Linked DNA regions of Homo sapiens: region 2 is linked to region 1. The links are contacts of gene promoters, found by promoter capture Hi-C in blood cells and fetal thymus (Javierre and others, 2016). All regions are on one chromosome and are shown on one strand. Each heading gives the region's core, a stretch centred on a gene start or on the middle of the fragment in contact. The rest is flanking DNA. Distances are from core to core; before and after follow the strand shown. Region 1 holds the start of ANKS4B (ankyrin repeat and sterile alpha motif domain containing 4B). Region 2 has its middle 33 kb from the start of METTL9.

Region 1 (4,855 bases), core at 1,244-3,743:
TGAACCCTGTTATTTGTTATTTGTCGAGAACTGCACTGCTTCTATTCAGTGGTCAGGTTTTATAAATATTCTGTGTGCTTAGAAAAAACATGCATTTACTATTGGGCACAGGGTCCTTTCTCCATGTGACTGTTAGATCAAGCTTGTTAATTGTGTTCAAATCTGTTTTTCTTCTTTTTTTTTTTTTTTGAGATGGAGTCTCACTCTGTCACCAGGCTGGAGTGCAATGGTGCGATCTCAGCTCACTGCAACCTCCGCCTCCCGGGTTTAGGCGACTCTCCTGCCTCAGCCTCCCGAGTAGCTGGGACTACAGGCACATGCCACCATGCCCAGCTAATTTTTGTATTTTTAGTAGAGACGTGGTTTCACCATATTGGCCAGGATGGTCTCAATCTCTTGACCTCGTGATCTGCACCCCCTCAGCCTCTCAAAGTGCTAGGATTACAGGTGTGAGCCACTGTGCCCGGCCCAAATATTTTATAGCTATACCAATCTTTAGTCTGATATAGAACATTATGATGATGTCTGAAATCTTCCCTTATGATTGTGGTTTTGTTTTTTTTTTTCTGTTTAATTTTTGCTTTCCCTTTTTTGCAGCTGTGTTATTTAATTTATACAAGTTTAAAACGATCATAGTTTCTTGATTAATTGTTCCTTTCATTATCATGTATTATCTCTCTTTATGCCTAGTAAATTTTTTTGGCTTAAGCTATATTTTTCCTTGCTACCAATACGGGTGCTCTTCAACTTACAATGCAAAACCACCATAAGTTGATATAATAACTCAGTTGTGAGCTGAGAAGCATACTAAATACCTGTCATTTTTGTGCCATCATAAAGTTGAAAAATTAGGTCAAACTCTCATAAGTTGCAGACCATCTATGTGGGTACACCAATGTTTTGTTAGTATTTGCTTGCTATAACTTTTCCATTTTTTGCTTTCAATCTTTCTGCAATTTTATATTTTAGATATGTCTATTATAAACAAGACATGGCTGAGTCTTCCACATCATAAATTTAGTCCATTTTCTTTTGTTTTTATTACAGATCTGGAAATTTTTTGGTCTTATATTGTACTCCTTATAGTCATTTTTCTATACTTTTTCTCCTTCCCTTGAGTTATTGATAATATGTTTAAGTTATTGATTTGAGATCTTTTTTCTTTCTCATATATGCATAAAAAACTACAAATTTTGCCCTAAGCTTTTCTTTAACTGCATCCTATAAATCTTGATATGTGGTATTTTCATTTTCATTCTGTTCCAAATATGTCTGATATAGGACTTGTATCCAGAGTATATAAATAATTCTTATAATTTATTAATAAGACAACCACTTAAAAATTGGGCAAAAAGATTTGAATAGAAGATGTAAGAATGGCTAATGGGCACATGAAAAGATGCTCAATATCTTAGTCATTAGGAAATTGAAAATTAAAGCCATAATAAGACCACTTCATATCCACTAGGATGACCATAAACAAAAAGATAGGCAATAATAAGGCTGGCAAGGTTGTGGAGAAATTGAAACCCTCATACGTTATTGGTGGAAATGTGAAGTAGTACAGCCACTTTGGAAAACAGTCTGGCAACTTCTGAAATTTAAATGTAAATTGCCATGCAACCCAGCAGTTTCACTCCTTGATATATACGCAAGACACATGAAAATATGTGTCCACACAGAGACTTGTACATCAGTGCTCATAGCAGCATTATTCATCATTACTGAAAAATGGAAACAACCCAAATATTCATCATATTCATGAAACATTGAATGGATGAAGAACATGTGGTATGTTAGCACAGTGGAATATTATTCAGCAGTGAAAAGAAAGAAACCATTACATGCTACACATGACAAACCTCAAAAAAGTATGTGAATTGAAACAAGCTATACACTAAAGACTATATATTGTAGGATTCCATTTGTCTGAAATGCCCGTAAAAAACAAATCTATAGAGACAGAAAGCAGACTGTGGTTTCCTGAGGTTGGGAGTGGAAATGGGATTGACAGCAAATGGCATGAGGGATCTTTAAGGGCTGATGGAAACTGGATTATGATAATGGGCATGCAACTCTATAAATGTCCTAAAAATCATTGAATTGTATGCATGAAATGGGTAAATTTAATGATGTTATACCTCAATAAAGCTGTTCTTTTTGGAAAAAACAGCTAGTGAACTAGAGTAGCTCTGCATTTTATTAAGAAATTATTTCTTACATCCTGTGCCTAGATGGCCAATATTACACTCAAGAAACTAATGGACATAGAAAAATTGAATGTACCTCCAAACACTCAAGATGAATACAGCAGTCTTCAATAGTCAACGTCATGGCCATTCCAGAGAGAAAAGGTCCAAGTTCAGTGCCTCGAACCTTGTTGCCTTCCGTGAAAGGAAGCAGTTGAAATGAGCTTTGCCCCTGGTGACACTCTTCCTTGTCACTAATTAACCAGCTCTATAGGAAGGTTGCTCCGCCAACACCTTGCTCTGCCTGGAGAGACATCTGGCCAAGTTCTGGTGAGCAGGAAAAATGTCTACTCGTTACCACCAAGCTGCTAGTGATAGTTACCTGGAACTTCTAAAAGAGGCTACCAAGCGAGATCTAAATCTTTCGGATGAAGACGGCATGACTCCTACTCTCTTGGCAGCCTACCATGGGAACTTGGAAGCCCTAGAGATAATCTGCAGTAGAGGGTAAGTTCAACCCGATGGTTTCTGTTGGAAACAGTGTTCATGGTAGGTTTTTGCAGACAGCAGCAAGAGGCAGGGACGTCAATACAAATACTTTATCCTCTTTCTAGATTGTCTAAATGATTGGATTTTTAGAGAAAGAGAGAAAACTATGCCTAGAGATGCTCTCTTTTCTCACTGAGGACTGGCACTATAGGAGTGGCTCATCCCTTAGCCACAATCAGAGGAGAGACCCTGAACTACGGCATTATCTGCATGGGGAAGAGGGAAGATATTTTAATTCTATGCCTTTAAAAATGCTTTTCATGAAATTTAAATAGTTTTCTCTTTTCAAAGAGGCCATTGTTTTACTTGGTTTTAAGTTGCCAACCTTGGTTGGAACAAATGACATGGTTTTAGTTTTTTTTTTATCTATGCCATCAAAATCTCACAGTCTTTTATTAACTTTCAATCCCAGTGCAAGCTCATGATTTTTTTATTTTTTATTTTTGACACAGGGTCTTGCTCTTTTGAATGGAGTTGCTGGCTCTACAAGGACTCTTTAGCCTATCTTAACTCTATCACTTCTTTGGCTAGTGGATAGATACACACACACACACACACACACACACACACACACACACCCCATCTCTTTGCCCAGATTTTAATGGAGGAGTAAGCTAGTTCCTCTGCTTGTTCTGCCTGTTATCAGAGGGCTAGGTTGTGTTGGCAACCGTAACCCAAGAGGGGTAAAGAAAGAGAAAAGGACAAGGTAAATAAAGGAGCCAAGTGAATCCAATTGAATACCCATTTATTCAGTATTTGTTATGTGCCAGCCACTTATCTCTTAAGATAAGAGATATTTTGCTAGCCACTGGGCACACTGTGATCAACAAGACAGCCACAGTCCCTGTCATAGTGAGCAGATTTGAGAGGGGAAGACAAGACATCTATGATATTTGTGTGTGTGTGTGTGTGCATGTTTGCTCTGAGACAGGGTCTCACTCTGTCACTCAGGCTGGAGTGCAGTGTCAAGATCATAGCTGACTGCAGCCTTGAGCCCCAGGCTCAAGTGGTCCTCCCATCTGAGCCTCCCGAGTAGCTGGGACAAGAGGTGTGCACCACCATGCCCAGCAATTTTTGTACTTTTTGTAGTGATGGGGTTTTGCCATGTTGCCCAGGATGGTCTTCAACTTATGAGCTCAAGCGATCTGACAGCCTCGGTCTCCCAAAGTGCTGGGATTACAGCTGTGAGCCACTGTGCCTGGCTCATCTATGATATTTGTTACAAAAAGGGAAATAGAGGGCACTAAATAGGCATCTACCTCAATCTCAGGGGTGAGGGAAGGCTTCCCTAAGGGGAAAGCATTTAAGCTGGGATTAGGAAAATGAGAACAAGTTGGCTAGACGAAAGAGTGTTTTCCCTAAGATGGAAAACTGCTCTAGTTCTGAGAACTAGAGAAGCTGAGTATGGCTGGATGTGGTTCAAGTAGGAGTGGGGTCAGGACAAGTATAAGAGATAAGACCAGATCACAAAGAGCCTTGTCAACTCTGGTAAGGACTTTATCCTAAGGGCCCAGGAAGCCATGTCTTGGGTAGGGAAGCTGCCAGAGTAGATTTATGTTTACAAAACTCACTCAGGTAGATGGATAACAGTCGGAGAGAATGTTTGGGGACTGTTTTAGTGGTCGAGATGAGTTGGACTAGGGTAGTGACATTGGGAATGGGAAGATATGGTTGGATTTGAGTGGCAGTTTGGATGTAGAATCAATAATGATTGACTGGATGTGGGCAGATAAAGGAAAAGGAGGGTTAAGGTCCCAGGTTTTGGATGTTGACACCCTTTATTAAAATAGGGGACATTTAGGAAGTGTCAGAAGAACCCAGGATTGGGAGAGTTCCTGAGTTGAAGATTGAATGAGAAAGTGAGTGAAGCAGATCTTCCCCATCTCTCTTGTCTGAATAAGACTTTCTTTTCTCAGACACATCGATCCCCATCAGCCAGCCTTCTCCAGTCATCTCATCTCTTCTCCTACTCAGCCTAGGGTTCCCCAGCTTTCTCCATCTACTGAAAGTCTACCTCATTCCACAAACTGCAAGATGTCAGTTACTTTAAAATCAAAGTATTAGCCTATTCTTGCATTGCTATAAGGAAATGCCTGGGCCTAGGTAATTTATAAAGA
Region 2 (4,886 bases), core at 270-2,769, 330 kb after region 1:
GAGGTGGAGGTTGCAGTGAGCCAAGATTGTGCCACTGCACTCCAGCCTGAGTGACAGAGCAAGACTCTGTCAGAAAAAAGAAAGAAAAGAGAGAGAGAGAAAGGAAGAGGGGAAGGGAAGGAAGGGAAGGAAGGAAGAGAGAGAGGAAGGAAGGAAGAGAGAGAGAGGAAGGAAGGAAGGAAAAGGAAGGAAGGAAGGGAACAGAAGATTAGTTGAGCATAGTGGCTCAGTGCCTGTAATCCCAGCACTTTGGGAGGCCGAGGTAGGCAGATCATTTGAGCCTAGGAGTTCAAGACCAGCCTGGGAAACATGGCAAAATCCCATCTCTACAAAAAATAGAAAAATTAGCTGGGCATTGTGGCATGCATCTGTAGTCCCAGCTACTTGTGGGGCTGATGCAGGAGGGTCACTTGAGCCCAGGAGGCAGAGGTTGCAGTGAAGTATGATTATGCCACTGCACTCCAGCCTAGGTGGCAGAGTGAGACTCTGTCTCAAAAAAAAAAAAAAAAAAAAGAAGATTGTGAGCAAAAATTGAATGCAATTTTTTTCATAAGCAGAGGTGTAATGGTTATTATTACAAAAGATGATATTAAATTTATTTATGTATTATCTCTTTGCCTCCACCAGAATGTAAGCTTTGTTGAAGGCAAGGATCATTGTTGATTTATTTACTCTGTATCCCAGGCATCTAAAACAGTAAGTGTGCAATAAATATTTGTTGAATGAATCAAAGCATAAGCAAGGCTTCAGATTCATTTTTCTATCAGAGATTCATTTAAAAATGTTAAGGAAATGAGAGGTGAAGACATCCTAAAGGCATAATACTCAAAGTAGTCAGTAGGTTCATTGATAACCCAGAGGAAAATATATAATATTATAGAGGAAAAGAAATTCTCTGAAATCATGGCATCTCTCCTAGCTTGGGATAACATTTTAGCAGAAAGACCGAAGAACTCTTCCAAGAAACATCAAGCAATTAAATGAAGTAGTAGAAAAATCACCAGTACTTTAAAGTAGATGAAGCCATTAAAATAGTTGCAGCTTCAGTAATCACCATGTAAGCCTGTAAGTGGTGGGTCTTAGACCACAACATGGTAGTTATCAAATTGCTTTATTCATCGAAATGTTCATTCTCCTGGCTGCCCTTGAACTTCCAGCCTAAGGCTTTCTCTCTGCAGGGTTGTCAGCATGCTCATGCAAGGCTTTGCCTCTGCAGATTATCAGAGGTGTACTCCATGCCCCTCTCACCATGAAAAAAGGGAGAAAAAGACAATTTCGTCTCAGAGATAGAAAATCTCCCAGAGAGAACCCCTGGCAGCTGGAATCCATTTTTTTCCCCCTGAAGCTGGAATCTGTTATAACTACAGAACACTGAAGGATAATGAGGTTCTGCTGCTAAGCAAATGCTGGGACAAAAAGCACAGAGGTGCTGCAGCCAGGCAGAGACTGGGCTTTTCATGAAACCCTGTGTCTCTGAGCACATATTGCAATAATTCTCTGACTAGCTGCTCAAGGCCTTGGCTTCGTGGCTTTTTACTCCGTTTAAAGGTCTTGATCAGGCCACTTCCGTTTTTAATGTTTGAGAAATGTCTGATTTATGCTGCTTCAAAGTGGAACTTGGGTTTCTATTACCTTTTTGGCACCTTGCACCCATTGTTGGCCTAATTCTGCTGTCTCGTCTATCTTGTGGTTCCTATCAGTAAACAAAGTCCAGGAGAGGCGTCATGCTTGTGAACACCTCCAACATCAAGTTCAAAAGTACAATCATGACCTTGTCCTGTCGTTCTCAGAATCTGGGCTCAGCTATTTCAAACCTCCCATGTCTTCACTGGTAGTGGTCAATTAGAAATCACTGAATCCTTTCCCTAGAGTGGTCAGAGACAGCCAGTTTATGGTAATTTGGGCACAAGTGCCAATTGGAAAGGTGCATTATTCAAACCACTTTGGCTACAAGTGACAGAAATTCAATGCAGGTTAGCTTAAATAAAAAAGGAATTCGGGCTGGGAACAGTGGCTCATGCCTATAATCCCAGCATTTTGGGAGGCCGAGGCGGGTGGATCACCTAAGGTCAGAAGTTCTAAACCAGCCCGGGCAACACGGTGAAACCCTGCCTGTACTATAAATACAAAAAATTAGCCAGGCATGGTAGTGCACGCCTGTAGTCCCAGCTACTCTGGAGGCTGAGGCAGAAGAATCACTTGAACCCGGGAGGTGGAAGTTGCAGTGAGCCAAGATCACGCCACTGTACTCCAGCCTGGGCGACAGTGAGACTCTGTCTCAAAAAAAAAGAAAAAAAGAAAAAAAAGGGAATTTATTGGCTTCTGTAGCTGAAAAGTCAGGCAGATTTGGATCTCAAATTATGTCATTAACTAGTTTCTCTGACTTACCCTCTGCGTTGTGTATAAGCTTTTCATCGCATGGCAGCAAGATACCTCCATGTTCACATAGGGCTAACAGCCCAAGATGGTGAGGAAACATGCACTTTTGTTCCAGTAGCACAGAAAAAGTCCCCAGGTGGACGCTAATGGGCACTGTATGAGTCAAGTGCTCATGGCTGAGGCAGTAGTTGTACCTTGACACATGAAGTCCTCTGACCAGATCTGGGCATGTACCTGACCTTGGGGATGGAAGTGAGGCAGTCCAGCTCCACCAACTCGTAAGGACTGAGACAGTTTACTAGGGAAGAGGGGAAAGCGTGTTTCTTACAGGAAGAAATGCGGGCAGACAAAACACCATATACCCCTTAAATTAGGTTTTCCACAGATAATTGAGGTGGAGCAGAAGGGTAACCACATTTTGACAGCATCATCAGTATGTGGTGAGTGGCCCAGCATTTGACCCTGGCCTCTGTGGTCATCTCAGAGCCCAGAAAGTAGCAGCAGAAGAGCAGAGCATGGGTAGGTAACCATCAGTTCTTGGATAACTGAAGGGTGATCTTGAGGAGCAGTGAGTCTGTGGGATGGCCATGCCTAACAAATGTCATCCAGTTCAGAGCACCAAGGACATTCCCAGCTATGGCTTTTATCTTTTATCTTCTTCTTCTTCTGGTTTTGCTCTGTCACCCAGGCTGGAGTGTAGTGGCATGATCTCGGCTCACTGCAACCTCTGCCTCCCAGGTTCAAGCAATCCTCCCACCTCAGCCCCCTGCGTAGCTGGGACTGCAGCTGAGCGCCACTACACCCAGCTAATTTTTGTATGTTTTGTAGAGATGGGGTTTCACCATGTTGATCATGCTGGTCTTGAAGTCCTAGGCTCAAGCAATCTGCCTGCCTTGGGCTCCCACAATGTTGGGATTACAGGCATAAGCCACCATGCCTGGCTCCAGCTGTGGCTTTTAGAGGAGGAGGTAGTGGTGGCCGGAGGTTTTGCACATGATTCTAGGCAGAACCCTCCTAGTTAATGCCTACTTGTCCTTTAGAACTCAGCTCAAATATTTCCTCTGGGGAGCATTCTCTGGCCTCCACTTGCCCAGCATGAGCCAGACCCTCTAACAATGAGCTCTCATTTAATACCTTGTTTTTCTATCATAGCACTTTCTACAGTCATCTTATATAATCATGTGTAAATCAAACTTATGACTATTTAAATAAGACCTATCTCGCACACTAGGAGGTAGGTAGGCTCCATGAAGATAGAGACTTTAGCAGTTTCACCTACCATTGAATACCCAGTATTTAGTCCAGTGCCTAGCACATTAATAATCACATGGGACCTATTTTTTTTAGATGAATAAGTTATATACAGAGGTTCTGGTAATAGCCATTGGTTCTAGTATGAAAATGTAACAAACTGCCTCCTCTTCTTCTATCATATAGTTTGACTTTTTCACATCTTTCCTCAATTGGTAGAATTAATAAGGTGCTATTTTAGATAACCCATGTCACCAAAAAGAAGCTGCAGACTGGACAATCAGCCTCTAAGTAATCAAGGGCCCCCTTTTACTGTGCATGATTTAAATGAAAAATACAATCTATCTGGAATGTAACTGAGAACCATAGGAATCTTTGGGCTTCGTGAAAGTTCTTAGCAGAAAATCAGGCCATGTCACTTCTGAATAATATTATTAACCCTGGTTTCCTCTTGTAACCTCTAAGTGTGTTGAATGGAAGTAAGTTTAGTACTAGAAAGGAATGCACAGATCCTACCACTTTGTTTAAAACCTGTTGGATGGGCCAGATGCAGTGACTCACCCCTGTCATCCCAGCACTTTGAGACGCGAAGGCGGGGGAATTGCTTGAGGCCACAAGTTTGAGACCAGCCTGGGCAACATAGCGAGACCCTGTCTCTACAAAAAATAAAAAAATTAGCTGGGTGTGGTGGCACGTGCCTGTAGTCCTAGCTATTTGGGAGGCTAAGGTGGGAGGATCACTGGAGCCCAGGAGTTCAAGGCTGCAGTGAGCCATGATTGTGCCACTGCACTCCAGCCTGGGCAACAGAGAAAGACTCAGACTCTAAAAAAAAAATAAAAACCTGTTGGATGGTAATTTCAAGATAAATTATTACAAGTACACACATGTACGTGCCTATCCTTTGTGCCTTTGTCCCCATCCTTGGTCCTCTGTTGTAGCTGTTGCATTTTTCACCAGGCATTGTGATCACAGGTTGACATGTCAGCTTCCTCTGGTATGAGCAACTGGAAGGTAGGGGTGACTCAGCTATCCATAATTTGAAAGAATCAAAACTGTTTGATAAAATATCTTACTTTTTTTTTTCTTTTTGAGACTGAGTCTTACTCTGTCACCCAGGCTAGAGTGCAGTGGCACAATCTTGGCTCACTGCAATCTCCACCTCCTGGGTTCAAGCAATTCTTCTGCCTCAGCCTCTGGAGTAGCTGGGATTACAGGTGGCTGCCACCACACCCGGCTAATTTTTATATTTTTAGTAG

The links. The method cuts DNA at HindIII sites, captures the fragments that hold promoters and counts their contacts. A CHiCAGO score of 5 or more calls a contact.
Region 2: a fragment that was not itself captured here is called in contact with the fragment with the promoter of ANKS4B in region 1 in 4 of 17 cell types (naive B cells, total B cells, total CD4 T cells and 1 more); the score reaches 9.5 in naive B cells.

Annotation. Positions count from the first base shown.
Region 1 is chr16:21,231,206-21,236,060 of GRCh38, forward strand. ANKS4B (ankyrin repeat and sterile alpha motif domain containing 4B) reads left to right here and starts at 2,494. Exons shown (of 2, transcript NM_145865.3): 1 at 2,494-2,696. The coding sequence starts at 2,533. LOC105371123 (a long non-coding RNA gene) reads right to left here and starts at 2,397. Exons shown (of 2, transcript XR_001752344.2): 1 at 2,287-2,397. The HindIII fragment of the contact is 3,732 bases long and covers 1,202-4,855 here.
Region 2 is chr16:21,564,448-21,569,333 of GRCh38, forward strand. No RefSeq gene overlaps it. Among named protein-coding and RNA genes, the nearest start is that of METTL9, 33 kb to the right of the region's middle. The HindIII fragment of the contact is 1,772 bases long and covers 634-2,405 here.